3 separate regions of the Homo sapiens genome follow, and regions 1 and 3 are each linked to region 2. Evidence: promoter capture Hi-C in 16 types of primary human blood cells and fetal thymus (Javierre and others, 2016). All regions are on one chromosome and are shown on one strand. The core of a region is centred on a gene start or on the middle of the fragment in contact, and the rest is flanking DNA. Distances in the headings are between cores, read along the strand shown.

The links. Contacts are between HindIII fragments. The CHiCAGO score rates a contact against its expected background, and 5 or more counts as called.
Region 1: a fragment that was not itself captured here is called in contact with the fragment with the promoter of SLC25A2 in region 2 in 5 of 17 cell types (M1 macrophages, M2 macrophages, M0 macrophages and 2 more); the score reaches 13.4 in M1 macrophages.
Region 3: a contact is called between a fragment that was not itself captured here and the fragment with the promoter of SLC25A2 in region 2, in 2 of 17 cell types (M1 macrophages and M0 macrophages). The highest score is 5.7, in M1 macrophages.

Annotation. Positions count from the first base shown.
Region 1 is chr5:140,767,424-140,772,023 of GRCh38, reverse strand. No RefSeq gene overlaps it. Among named protein-coding and RNA genes, the nearest start is that of PCDHA1, 16 kb to the left of the region's middle. The HindIII fragment of the contact is 3,232 bases long and covers 98-3,329 here.
Region 2 is chr5:141,300,892-141,305,656 of GRCh38, reverse strand. SLC25A2 (solute carrier family 25 member 2) reads left to right here and starts at 1,608. Exons shown (of 1, transcript NM_031947.4): 1 at 1,608-3,022. The coding sequence starts at 1,792. The coding sequence ends at 2,697. RefSeq lists a silencer at 4,679-4,765. The HindIII fragment of the contact is 3,271 bases long and covers 1,121-4,391 here.
Region 3 is chr5:140,741,893-140,746,436 of GRCh38, reverse strand. All of the region lies in intron 3 of LOC105378198 (a long non-coding RNA gene), which reads right to left. Among named protein-coding and RNA genes, the nearest start is that of PCDHA1, 42 kb to the left of the region's middle. The HindIII fragment of the contact is 3,613 bases long and covers 1,256-4,544 here.

The DNA of each region.
Region 1 (4,600 bases), core at 464-2,963, 530 kb after region 2:
TTTGACAAAGGTGCAAATGCAACTAACTGAAGGAAAGATAGGCTTCCAAAAAATGGCATTGGAGCAATTGGACATCCATGGGCAAAAAAAATAAGCTTCAGCCTAAGTCTCACATCTTATACTAAAATTAATTCAAAATTTATCACAAACTTAAAAGTAACATAACATTCTAAGATTTTTAGAAAACAACATAAAGGAAAATATTCAGGATCTAGGGCTAGGCAAAAGGCTCTTAGACTTGACATCAAAAGCATAATCTGTAAAATGAAAAACTAATAAGTTGAATTTCTTAAACATTTTTAAACTTTTACCCTTTTAAAAAAAACATATTAAAAGCATAAAAGATAAAGCTAAAATTTTGGAGAAAATGTTTGCAAGCACATATCTGACAACACACTTATATCTAGTACATATAAAAGAACAGTCAAAACTCAACAGTAAAAAAGCAAACAGCCCAATTAGAACCTGGATATGAAAAGACATTTTACCAAAGAAAATATCCAAGAAGGCAAAGAAACACATGAACATATTTTCAATGCCAGTAGCTATTAGGGAGGAGCAATAAAACTACAATTGGGTATTATTAGATACCTATCAGAATGACTCAGATAAAATGTTGAAAACACCAAATGTTAGAAAAAAATTCAGAGAAACTAGATTACTCATACATTCTGGTGATAATGCAAACTGCTATAGCCACTCTGATAAAGAGTAAGGCAGTTTCTTTAAAAACAAAACAAAGCAACCAACTACCCATGGACCTCTCATATAGAACAATAATTGCATTCTTTGGCATTTATTTAATAGAAGTAAAAACTTGTGTTCACACAAAAACCTTTACACAAATGGTAATACAAATTTCATTCATAATATTCCTGAACTTAAAACATCCCAGATGTCCTTCAACAGATGAATAATAAACAGGGGAACATCTATGTAATGGAATTCTATTCCATTATATTAATACATTCAATAACCTGGATGAATTTCCAGAGAATTATGCTGAGTGAAAATGACTAATCACAAAATGTTTTATACTGTATGATTTTATTTATATATCATTCTGGAAATAACAACATTTTAAAAGTGGAAAACAGATTAGTCGTTGCAAGGGTTAAGAAAGAGGTGGGCCAGGGGTGAAAGGTAGTATGGGCATAAAAGGGCAATATAAGGAATCTCTGTAGTAATGGAAATGTTCTGGATCTTAACTGCATCAATATCAATATTTTGGATGTAATATTGATAGTCTTGGAAGATGTTACCATTGTGGAAAAGTGGGTAAAGAGTACAGAGGATTATTATTTCTTATAATTGCATGTGAGCCTACAATTATCTTAAATAATAAGTGTGTTCATCTGATTTGCTTTGCTATAAAGGACTACCTGAGGTCAGTACTATATAAAGAAAATAGGTTTATTTGGCCAATGGTTTGGCAGACTGTACAAGAAGCATGGTGGCAACATCTATTTCTGATAGCCTCTTATTCCTGAGGCCTCAGGAGCTTTTATTCATAATAGAAGGTGAAGGAGGAGGCCAGGCATGGTGGCTCATGCCTGTAACCCCAGCACTTTGGGAGGCCAAGGCGGGCAGGTCATGAGGTCAGGAGTTCGAGACCAGCCTGGCCAACATAGTGAAACCCCATCTCTACTTAAAAAAATACAAAGATTAGCCCGGTGTGGTAGCACGCGCCTGTAGTCCCCACTACTCTGGAGGCTGAGGCAGGAGAATTGCTTGAACGAGGGAAGTGGAGGTTGCAATGAGCTGACATCGCTCCACTGCACTCCAGCCTGGGCGACAGAGTGAGACTCTGTCTCAAAAAAAAAAAAAAAAGGGAGAGAGAAGGTGAAAGGGGAGCAGGCATATCACATGGCAAGAGAGGTGCCAGGCTCCTGTAAATAAGTAGCTATCATGTGAACTAATAAAGTGAGAATTCATTTATTACCACAGGGAGGGCACCAAGCCATTCATGAGGGATCCACCTCCATGACCAAAATACCTCCCACTAGGCTCACCTCCAAAATTGGAGATCACATTTTAACATCAGATTTGGAGGATACAAATATCCAAACCATATCAACAAGTTTAATTATAAAATCAGAAGCGAAGACAGCAAAATCATGAACAAGGAGGCTCCGAACTTTTGTCCCCCAACAGAAACATCAACAAAACAAAAAACAGTCAAAGGTCTACAACAACCAAGTAAACGCCCAATCAAGAAAAAAAAATCTATGAACATATTTAGACTGTAAGAAAAAAAAAATCTAGCCAGGAGCTGTGGCCCATGCCTGTAATCCCAGCAATTTGGGAGGCCAAGGTAGGAGGTTTGCTTGGGCCAGGAGTTTGAGACTAGCCTGGGTAGTCAGACTCCATCTCTACCAAAAAATAAAAATGAAAACAGCCTGGAAAACAGAGAAAGACCCTGTCTCAGAAAGAAACATTTGGTGATGATTTTACTCTTCCTTGCCTGACCTTCTTCCTGGCACAATATCAAACATGGTCTTGAATTGGTGACAGCACAGTTCCCAGTTCCTTCCCTAGAACCAAAGGGTGAAGAGCAGACTTCATTTACAATTTTTTTTGTTTGTCTCTTCTAATCTGTCTAGGGAAACAACTGAAGGACTGAAGCAAAGTGTTTGATTGTTTGAAGGTTAAAGAATTTGCAGGTGGCTATAATTTTAATGTTTGTCCCCTCCAGGCTTCATGTTGAAATTTGATCCCCATTGTGGCAATGTTAGGAGGTAGGACCTAGTGGGAAGCATTTGGTTCATGAAGGTGGATACCTCATGAATAGATTAATACCTTCCCTGCTGGGTTAGTGAGTTTATGCTCTAAATAGTTCCTACGAGAGCTGGTAGTTAAAAAGAACCTGGCATGCACACATAAACATCTGCCTCCTCTCTTATCATTTGATCTCTTTGCACACTGCCTAACCTTCCACATTCCACCATGATATGTGGCAGCCTGAGACCCTCAGATGGAAATATGCAATCTTGAACTTTCCAGTCACCAGAACCATGAGACTAATCATTTCTTTATAAACTATGTGGTCCCACTAGACTGTTACAGCATTACTAAACAGACTAAGACACAGGCACTGCTCCTAAAAGCTACAAGGTGACTACAAACCCACAGACATCTGGAGGAAGATATTATGCTTGGGGACATGTAATATATCATCTAAGACCTGGAAGATAAGCTGGGGTGACACTCTGTGGGAAATTAAGACATTCAAATTCAGCCACATGTATAAGGAAATTTAAAAAGCCATGTGCATGTCCAGGCAAGACATATGCTTAGAAAAATTTCCACCTTGAGATAATCCCTAAGCTTACAACAAGCCTATGTATGGTGAAGAAGTGCTCCAGTACACAGGCAATCTGAAAAGACTGGGAGAAATGGCTTCTCTCTTTCTCTGATTTTGATTTGTTTGTTTAGGTTCATGACACTCAAGGGAATCCATCAAATAACTAGACGAACACAAGCTAGAGGATCAGAAACTTCAGTGATCACATTTGACAAGGAATAGTCTTTGCAAAACATGCTTGGAAAAGTCTCAAAAGAAAGAACTACTACAGCCTTCAACAATTTAAAACATTAAACTCTGGGAAAGTGAGATAATCTTATTTTCAAAGTTTTCACAAAATATCAAAATGTCTAATTTTCAAGAAAAAATCACATCATACAAAGAAACAGGAAAACATGTCTTATTCAGAGAAACATAATACATGGACAGTAATCATCCCTAAGATTTCCCTGACCTTGGACTTAATGGGCAAAGAATTTAAAATAATTGTCTTAAATATGCTCAAATAGCTAAGAAAAAATATGAACAAAGAAGTAAAAAAAATCAAGAGATAACATATGAACCAAATGAGAACATTGACAAAGATATAAAAATTATGAAAAGAAACCCAACAAATTCTGAAGCTGAAAAATACAATCACTAAATGAAAAGTTCACTAGAGGGGTTCAACCCACAGATTTAAGTAGACAGAAGAAGCTGAGTATAGTGGCTCATGCCTGTAGTCCTAGTACTTTGGGATGCCGAGGTGGGAGGATTGCTTGAGCCCAGGAGTTCAAGACCAGCCTAGCCAACACAGTGAGATGAGACCTCATCTCTGAAAAAAGTGAATTAATTAGACAGAATAAATAATCAGCAACTTGAAAATAAGATAATTGACATTATCATTGGAAAAGCACGAAGGAAAAACGAATAAAGAAAAGTGAGGAGAGCCTAAAGGACTTGTGGGATATCATCAAGCATACAAATATATACATATGAGAGTCCCATAAGGAGAAGAGAGAAAGAGAGACAGAGATAAAAATGGTTGAAATGAATATTTTTAAACAATAGTGTTTGAAAACTTTCCACATTTAATGACAGACATCAATCTACAAATTCAAGAAGCTCAACAAAGTCCGAGTGGGAAACCGCAAAGAAACCCACACTAAGACACATTATAATCAAACTATGAAAATCCAAAGACAAAGATAGAATCTTGAAAGCAAGAGAAAAGCAACTCAATATGTATAGGAAATGCTCAATAAAATTATCAACCAACTTCTCATCAGAAACCTTGCAGACCAAAAAGCAATGGAA
Region 2 (4,765 bases), core at 359-2,858:
TAAACAAGGGGTGGATTATTCATGAGGTTTCTGGGAAAGGGGTCCAAAGTTACCGGAACTGAGGATTCCTCCCCCTTTTTAGACCACATAGGGTCACTTCTTATTGTTGCCATGGCATCTGTAAGTGGACACGGCGCTGGTGGGCGTGTCTTTTAGCATGCTAATGCATTATAATTGGCGTATAATGAGCAGTAAGGACGACCAGAGGTCACTTATTATGCCATCTTGATTCTGGTGGGATTTGGCTGGCTTCTTTACTGAAACCTGTTTTATCAGCAAGGTCTTTGTGACCCGTATCTTGTGCCGGCCTCCTATCTCATCCTGTGACTTAGAATGCCTGTCTTCCTGGGAATGCAGTCCAGTAGGTCTCGGCCTTATTTTACTCAGTCCCTAGTCAAGATGGAGTTGCTGTGGTTCCAGCGCCTCTGACAGTTTGTCTTCTCTACTTTATTTTTTGTAGGGGGTAAGGGGTGTCTCATTTTGCTGCCCAAGCTAGCCTTGAACTCCTAGGCTCAAATGAGCCTCCCTCCGCAGCCTCTCCAAGTGTTGGGATTACAGGCATGAGCCACCACACCTGGCCTGTCTTATCTACTTTAAAGCAGTTTTCTTGTAGATTGACCCTCTGAATTCAGGGTCTATTCAAGTGAGGGCATCTTCTTTTCGGGTTGTTTGTTTTTGTTTTTTGCATGGTAAGAAGCGTGGGATAGGCCGGGTGTGGTGGTTCATGCTTGTAAGCCCCAACACTTTGGGAGGCCAGTGGGTGGATTGCTTGAGTTCAGGAGTTCGAGACTAGCCTGGGCAACATGGCGAAACCCCGTCTGTACAATACAAAATTTAGCCAGATGTGGTGGCTTGCGCCTGTAGTCCCTCTAGTCTCAGCTACTCAGGAGGCTGAGGTGAGAGGATCGCCTGAGGCCAGGAGATTGGGGCTGCAGTGAGCCAGGATCGCGCCACTGAACTCCAGCTTAGGCGGCCGAGTGAGACCCTAAGTCAAAAAAAAAAAAAAGAGAGAAAAGAAAAGAAGCAGGGCTGACTGATTAGGACAGCATTTCTTTTGCCGCCAGCTGAACTGCGGCGTCTAGAGTTCCCGGCCATAATTGCAAGAATTTATCGAAAAGCTTTACATGTTTTCTTGGTTTTGGTTTTGTTTTGAGACAGAGCCTCACCCTTTCGCCCACCCTGGAGTGCAGTGTGCGATCATAGCTCACTGCAGCATCGACCTCCCGGGTTCAAGCGATCCTCGCTTCATTCTCCTGAATTGCTGGGACCACAGGCGCGCGCCATCGCGCCCGGGTATTTTTTCGTTTTTGTAGAAATGGAGTCTTGCCATATTGCCCAGGCTGGTCTCGATCTCCTGGGCTCAAGCGATCCTCCCGCCTCGGCCTCCCAAAGTGCTGGGATACAGGAGTGAGCCACCGCGCCCAGTCGCAGTACACTAAAAGTATTTATTCGGTCCGCGTCCCCCGCCTGCGGGTGCAGGGATGGCGGCTCCAGGCTGGAGGCGGCTGGGGGCCCGGCCAGTGCGCCAGGAGCCGCAGGAACGCTAGTGAGCCGCGCGCTGGGCCGGCAGCTGGGGGTTATTTTAGTGCGCGGGGAGGGGGCGGCCCGCGGCGGAGCGTAGGGTTGAGCGGCTTCCCCCGCACTGGGGTGAGAGCCCAGAACAGGCGGTAGAGCCACCCCACCACCCCCAACTCCATTCCCCGCGCTCGCTGCGGCTGGACGTGAAAAGCCGGTCTCACGCTCTGGGGAGTTAGTCGCCTTCCACTGGGACCCTCAGACGAGTGAGCGAACATGAAGTCCGGTCCTGGCATCCAAGCCGCCATCGACCTCACAGCGGGGGCCGCAGGGGGGACAGCGTGTGTACTGACTGGGCAGCCCTTCGACACAATAAAAGTGAAGATGCAGACGTTCCCTGACCTGTACAAGGGCCTCACCGACTGCTTCCTGAAGACATACGCTCAAGTGGGTCTCCGGGGCTTCTACAAGGGCACCGGCCCGGCACTTATGGCCTACGTCGCCGAAAACTCGGTCCTCTTCATGTGCTACGGGTTCTGCCAGCAGTTTGTCAGGAAAGTGGCTGGAATGGACAAGCAGGCAAAGCTGAGTGATCTCCAGACTGCAGCCGCGGGGTCCTTCGCCTCTGCATTTGCTGCACTGGCTCTCTGCCCCACTGAGCTTGTGAAGTGCCGGCTACAGACCATGTATGAAATGGAGATGTCAGGGAAGATAGCAAAAAGCCATAATACAATTTGGTCTGTCGTGAAGGGTATCCTTAAAAAGGATGGCCCCTTGGGCTTCTACCATGGACTCTCGAGTACTCTACTTCAAGAAGTACCGGGTTATTTCTTTTTCTTTGGTGGCTATGAACTGAGCCGATCGTTTTTTGCGTCAGGGAGATCAAAAGATGAACTAGGCCCTGTCCATTTGATGTTAAGTGGTGGAGTTGCTGGAATTTGCCTGTGGCTTGTCGTGTTCCCAGTGGATTGTATTAAATCCAGAATTCAAGTTCTTTCCATGTATGGGAAACAGGCAGGATTTATTGGTACCCTCTTAAGTGTTGTGAGAAATGAAGGAATAGTAGCCTTATATTCTGGACTGAAAGCTACTATGATTCGAGCAATCCCTGCCAATGGGGCACTGTTTGTGGCCTACGAATACAGCAGGAAGATGATGATGAAACAGTTGGAAGCATACTGAAGTGTCTTGGTGAACCTGGATCCGAGTCCATGAGTTTGAGGACTACAGTTCATCACAGGGTTCAGCAGAGTACAAGACCACTGTCTAATTTTGACTTCATGGGAATTTTGGTTTTATCTTCCCTTCTTCTACCCTAAATCTTAACTTTATGGAAGGGCCTCTATTTTACATCATATAATTTCTGCCCATAATTGTATTGAAATAGGAAAGTTGCTGCTCTTGCACTTGCTGGAATGTACAGGGTGGGCTGGTTGGCCCTATGTACCTAATCTGAAAAACTAAATATCGTTCTGTCAGGGCCTTTGCATAAAGCCATTTGTGTGTACATGCAGTTTGGATGATTCTATGTCGTGAGTGAAACAATTTAGTTCTATATATAATCTCAAATATCAGCCCCCCAAACCCAGAATTGACCATATTTTGTGAAGATAGGTATGAATGATTACTTAGGATCACTCTCTCTTTTTTTCTTTTTTTTTGGAGACAGAGTCTCACTCTGTCGCCCAGGCTGGAGTGCTGTGGCATGATCTTGGCTCACTGCAACCTCTGCCTGCCTGGTTCAAGCGATTCTCCTGCCTCAGCCTCCCGAGTTGCTGGGATTACAGGTGCCCGCCACCATGCCCAGCTAATTTTTGTATTTTTAGTAGGGATGGGGTTTCACCATGTTAGCCAGGCTGGTCTCGAACTCCTGACCTCAGGTGATCCACCCAGCTCAGCCTCCCAAAGTGATGGGATTATAGGCATGAGACACCGCACCCGGCCAGGATCTCTTTTAAAGTCTGCTTAACATGCGCACTACATTAGGCGGTTCAAGTTTTGAAACATCTTCATGTGGTGCTTGATACCAAAATACTCCTCTCTCTCTCTCTCTCTCATATATATATATATATGAGAAAAAGTATATATATATATATACTTTTTTTTTTTGAGATGCAGTCTCACTCTTGTTGCCCAGGCTGGAGTGCAGTGGCACGATCTTGGCTCACTGCAACCTCCGCCTCCTGGGTTCAAGTGATTCTTCTACCTCAGCCTCCCAAGTAGCTGGGACTACAGGTGCACGCCACCACACCCGGCTAACTTTTGTGTTTTTAGTAGAGATGGGGCTTTGCCATGTTGGCCAGGCTCGTCATGAACTCCTAACCTCAGGTGATCCACCCGCCTAGGCCTCCCAAAGTTCTGGGATCACAGGTGTGAGCCGCTGCGCCTGGCCTCATCTATATTTTTAAGAGGAGAAGGTACCTGCATACCAGTGTGGCTTTGACATTCTTGAGTTAAAAGTTTCAGAGTAAGCATTGTGGATTTTCCCAAGAAACAATACCCTTAATATAGTGTTATCCATTTTCAAAGTGGGATTATATTCTGCACTCTGCCTATATGGTTAGGGATGATCTAGAGTATCATCAGGCCTTGGGGAATCCACACAGCCTTCCTGCGCCAGCTTCCGTTCTCCCCCTCAAACGAGCTGGGCTTTAGTTCGAGGAAGGAGCTGTGCACCTCTGCTTTGATGAAGACCCATGTGGCTGATAACAGTTCTTAGCTTCCAGTCTCTGGGTCCTGGCCTGGGTAGGACTCAAGGGTGTTCTATCGGCCCATTTAGAGGTTGTTGATTCATTTTGGGTCACTCACTGTCCTTTCTGCCTCCATCAGCCAGAAACCTTCCTGGGGAACAGAAAGTGACAAAGCTAAGAGAAGCTTTTGTTCCCTATTTGCTAATAATACTTGTGGGTAAAAGTCATCTACTCTCAGATAGAACTAGACAGAACTTAGTGCTTTTGCTCCACAATGAGTCATGTTAGGGACAACCCTTTCTTGAAGTTTACCTTGGGGTCCATAATACCTTCCCATGCCTTTACAGTGCTAGAGTCTTCTAAATTTGGTACTGTTCATCAGTAAATTTTAATGATAACTACGTATGGGGTGTGACTAAGGAATGAAACAGAAGAAAAGTAATTTTATTGAACTATATACCATATGTATGTATATGTACACTGTCAAAACCCCTCCAAAACAAAGAAAAACCCCCAACCCCAAAACGTAGTTCATTTATCTGATCCCCACAGACTTGGAG
Region 3 (4,544 bases), core at 1,813-4,312, 560 kb after region 2:
CTACTTGGGAGGCTGAGGCAGAAGAATTGCTTGAACCCGGGAGGCAGAGGTTGCAGTGAGCCGAGATCACACCACTGCACTCCAGCCAGGGTGACAGAGAGAAACTCCCTCTCAACAACAACAACAACAAAAAGTCTTAGCCGGGCGCGGTGGCTCACACCAGTAATCCCAGCACTTTGGGAGGCCAAGGCAGGTGGATCACAACGTCAGGAGCTCGAGACAAGCCTGACCAACATGGTGATACCCTGTCTCTACTAAAAATACAAAAATTAGCCAGGCATGGTGGTGGGCGCCTGTAATCCCAGCTACTCAGGAGGCTGAGGCAGGAGAATTGCTTGAACCCAGGAGGCGGAGGTTGCAGTGAGCCAAGATGGTGCCACTGCACTCCAGCCTGGGCGACAGAGCGAGACTCCATCTAAAAAAAAAAAAATACTTAGGCCAGGCACGGTGGCTCATGCCTATAATCCCAGCACTTTGGGAGGCCGAGGCAGGCAGATCACGAGGTCAGGAGTTCAAGACCAGCCTGGCCAACATGGTGAAACCTTGTCTCTACTAAAGATACAAAAAATTAGCCAGGCATGGTGACGTGCACCTGTAATCCCAGCTACTCAGGAGGCTGAGGCAGGAGAGTTGCTTGATCCCGGGAGGTGGAGGTTGCAATGAGCCAAGGTCGCACCATTCCACTCCAGCGTGGGTGACAGGGCGAGATTCCATCTCAAAAAAAAAAAAAAAGTCTTATCTGAGATTCTTTATGGAACAGAGTTCCATCAAAACCAATTAAAAGAAGCCTATGTGGCAAATAATTATTCTTGCTGCACTTTAAACAAATAATTAGGCCAAGTATATTAAAGCAAATTGGTCTTACCATGATTTGTCTTTAGTAAAAATGGGAGACTGGAGAGAGAAAAAATATGTTTCAGGAACTATGGTACACCTTTTGTCAGATTTTAGTCTCATCAGTTGTTTTTGAGTTTTTTGTCTGCAATTTAGACTGCTTATTCCTGTAAACCAACCAGTGGTGTCTGGCTGATAGAAGAAACAAGAAGGATAGGTGATATAAAAATGTGGATCAATATTCTAATTCTGGGCATGTATTGAAATCAGCTAGTGACTCCATATTAGCTCAGTTCCAACAGTTGCCTAGCTTATGGAAAGCCTTCTTATTTAGTTTACTTGAGATAACTTTACTTATTTTGCTTTACTTTTGTGGAATATATTGGTGTTGTGCTCTTTGCATAGGAATGCAGAACAAGCTTACTCAATGTTTTCCCAAATTAAACACTTATTAATCTTCCAGATGTCACCTTTTATCAGTACTCAGGGTTATGAATGGTGCTTGACATACTGATGCTTTCTGATTGAGCTACTCTCTACCCTGAATACAAGAGACCCTAATAATTAGGCAGGAATATCATTGCCCCTATTCAGCCTGAAAAAGTTACAAAACATGGATCTTCATCCTGCTACAACCCTTAGGATTAAGAGTTTTCTTATAAAAGGGAGGGAGGGGCCAGGTGCAGTGGCTCACACCTATAATCCCAACACTTTGGGAGACTGAGGCCAGTGGATCACTTGCGGTCAGGAGTTCGAGACCAGCCTGACCAACGTGGTGAAACCCCGTCTCTACTAAAAATACAAAATTAGCTGGACATGGTGGCACACACCTGTAATTTCAGCTACTTGGGAGGCTGAGGCAGGAGAATCACTTGAACCTGAGAGGCAGAGGTTTCAGTGAGCTGAGATCATGCCATTGCACTCCAGCCTGGGCAAAAAGAGCAAAACTCTGTCTCCAAATTAAATAAATAAGTAAATAAATAAATGGGAGGGAGGAAGTCTGTCAGAGGCCTTTGAATCAGAGCAACTCCATCTTGAATGGAGGCTGGGTAAAATAGGGCTGAGACCTACTGGGTTGCATTCCCAGTCACATTCTAAGTCACAGGATGAGATAGGAGGTCGGCACAAGATACAGGTCACAAAGACCATGTTAATAAAGCAGCGTGTGGTAAAGAAGCCAGCCAAATCCCACCAAAACCAAGATGGCGAAGAACGTGACCTTTGGTCATCCTCACTGCTCATTATATACTAATTATAATGCATTAGCATGCTAAAAGACACTCCCACTAGTGCCATGACAGTTTACAAACGCCATGGTAACATCAGGAAGTTACTCTATATGGTCTAAAACTAGGAGAAACCCTCAGTTCTGGGAATTGCCCACCCCTTTTCCAGAAAACTCATGAATAATCCACCCCTTGTTTAGCATACAATCAAGAAATAGCCATAAAAATAGGCAACCAGCAGCCTTCGGGGCTGCTCAGCCTGGGGGATAGCCATTCTTTATTCCTTTACTTTCTTAGTAAACTTGCTTTCACCTAAAAAAAATACCCAACATCAATTATCATTAGAAAAATGCAAATTAAAACCATATAAATATCATCTCACACCAGAAAGAGAGGGAAAATAAGTGTTGGAAGGGGTGTGCAGAAATTGGAACCTTTGTGCACTATTAATGGGAATGTAAAATGGTGCAGCCTTTTTAGAAAACAGTAAGGCAGTTTCTCAGAAAATTAAAAATAGAATTACCGGCAGGGCACGGTGGCTCACGCTTGTAATCCCAGCACTTTGGGAGGCTGAGGCCAGTGGATCATGAGGTCAGGAGCTCGAGACCAGCCTGACTAACATGGTAAAATGCCATCTCTACTAAAAATACAAAAATTAGCTGGGCATGGTGGTGTGCGCCTGTAATACCAGCTACTAGGGAGGCTGAGGCAGGAGAATCGCTTGAACCCGGGAGGCGGAGGTCGCAGTGAGCGGAGATCATCCCATCACACTACAAAATGACAAATACTATATGATTCCACTGATATGAGGTCCCTAGAGTAGTCAGATTCACAGAGACAGAAAACAGAATGGTGGTTGTCAGGAGCTGGAGGATGGAAAATGGGAAGTTGTTGTTTAATGGGCATAGAGTTTCAGTTTTGCAAGAAGACAGCCCTGAAGATTGACTGCCCAACAATGTGAATGTGCCTAACATTACTGAACTGTACACTTAAAAATGGTTAAGATGGTAAATTTTATATTATGGATTTTACCACAGCTTTTTAAAATTATTTTAAAACTGGCTGTCACAAAAAGGAAAAGAATATCAGGTGAGATTGGTCTAGATTAAAGAGACTGGAGAGATGTCATGACAACTAAAAGCAATGCATGATCTATAATTGGTTCCTGACTTTAAAAAATATTATATATATATATATTATATATGTATATATGTATGAGTCCAATTGTCCAACCAAGTACCAAATGTCATTCTTCATTTCTTGCAGGCACTCACATTCTCCACAGAGGCCTACTGAATTCTTTCTCATCACATGGCTCCCTAGATGAAAGGAAAGGTCTCACACTGTGACAACCTTCCCCCAACCCACTATCAAGGATTCTGACAACTATCCCTTTCCCTAGTACCGTCTTTATACAAACTGGGGATTGGGGAAAGGTAAGGGGGTGATATCGTGATTGGTTATCAGAAAGCTGGCTTGGCCACTAACTCTTGGCAATCAGGTGGAAGCTACTCTTAGAATTACTTCTTTCTGTTTTCAGCATAGCTCAAATTCCTGGGCAAAAGAAAAACTCTTAACCAGATGGGGCAGCTCATGCCTGCAATCCCAACATTTTGGAAGGCCAAGGCGAGAGGATTGCTTGAGCTCAGGAGTTTGAGACTAACCTGGGCAACAGAGTGAGATGCCCTCTGTACAAAAACTTCTTAAAAATTAGCCAGGTATGGTGGCATGTGCCTGTAGTCCCAGCTACTCGGGAGGCTGAGGTGGGAGGATGGTTTGGGCCTGGGAAGTTGAGGCTGCAGTGAGCTGTGATTGTGTCATTGCACTCAGATCTGGGCAACAGAGTAAGATGCTATCTCAGAAAAAGAGGGGAAATCCCTTGCATATTATCCTTTTACTTATTATGACAATTATTATTCTCTTTTCCCTTGTTTTGCTTTTTCAGGCTGGTCAACTATCTGTTCATTTGCTCTCTTCTGTATATGGGTGTAGGGGCATGGCTCTGCCACGTTGACCTGCCAACCTTATATGTACTCACATAGGCCATACAGGCAAGGCTTAACCATAATTAATCAAAGTCTTGGCGGACATTCTGTGATCCTTGGGGAACAGGCTTATGAGGAACTACCACAAGGCCACTTTCAACTCATCTTTTTATCTTCTTGGGAGGCTGTCATGAGGCAGTTCTTATCACTTCCCAGGTTCTGATAAGGTATGAGGCATTCTGCCTCATCTTTCTTAGGGCAGAACTGCAAGCCATAAACTTCTTAGTTGCAAATGGACTCAGCTCCTCAGCAACAGGGTGTCTCATTACTCAGGTTGCCATCCCCTTTTGTATTGGTGCTGTCCTGTGGGAGAGCTGGAAATTCTGCTTATTTCCTTTTGTGTCTATGTAAGTAATAAACTGTCTGAATCAAACAAGGACTGCTGTTTCTTTACTAATCAAAGCTGCTAGGATTTGCCTGAGAATGGGTTCTTATTTTT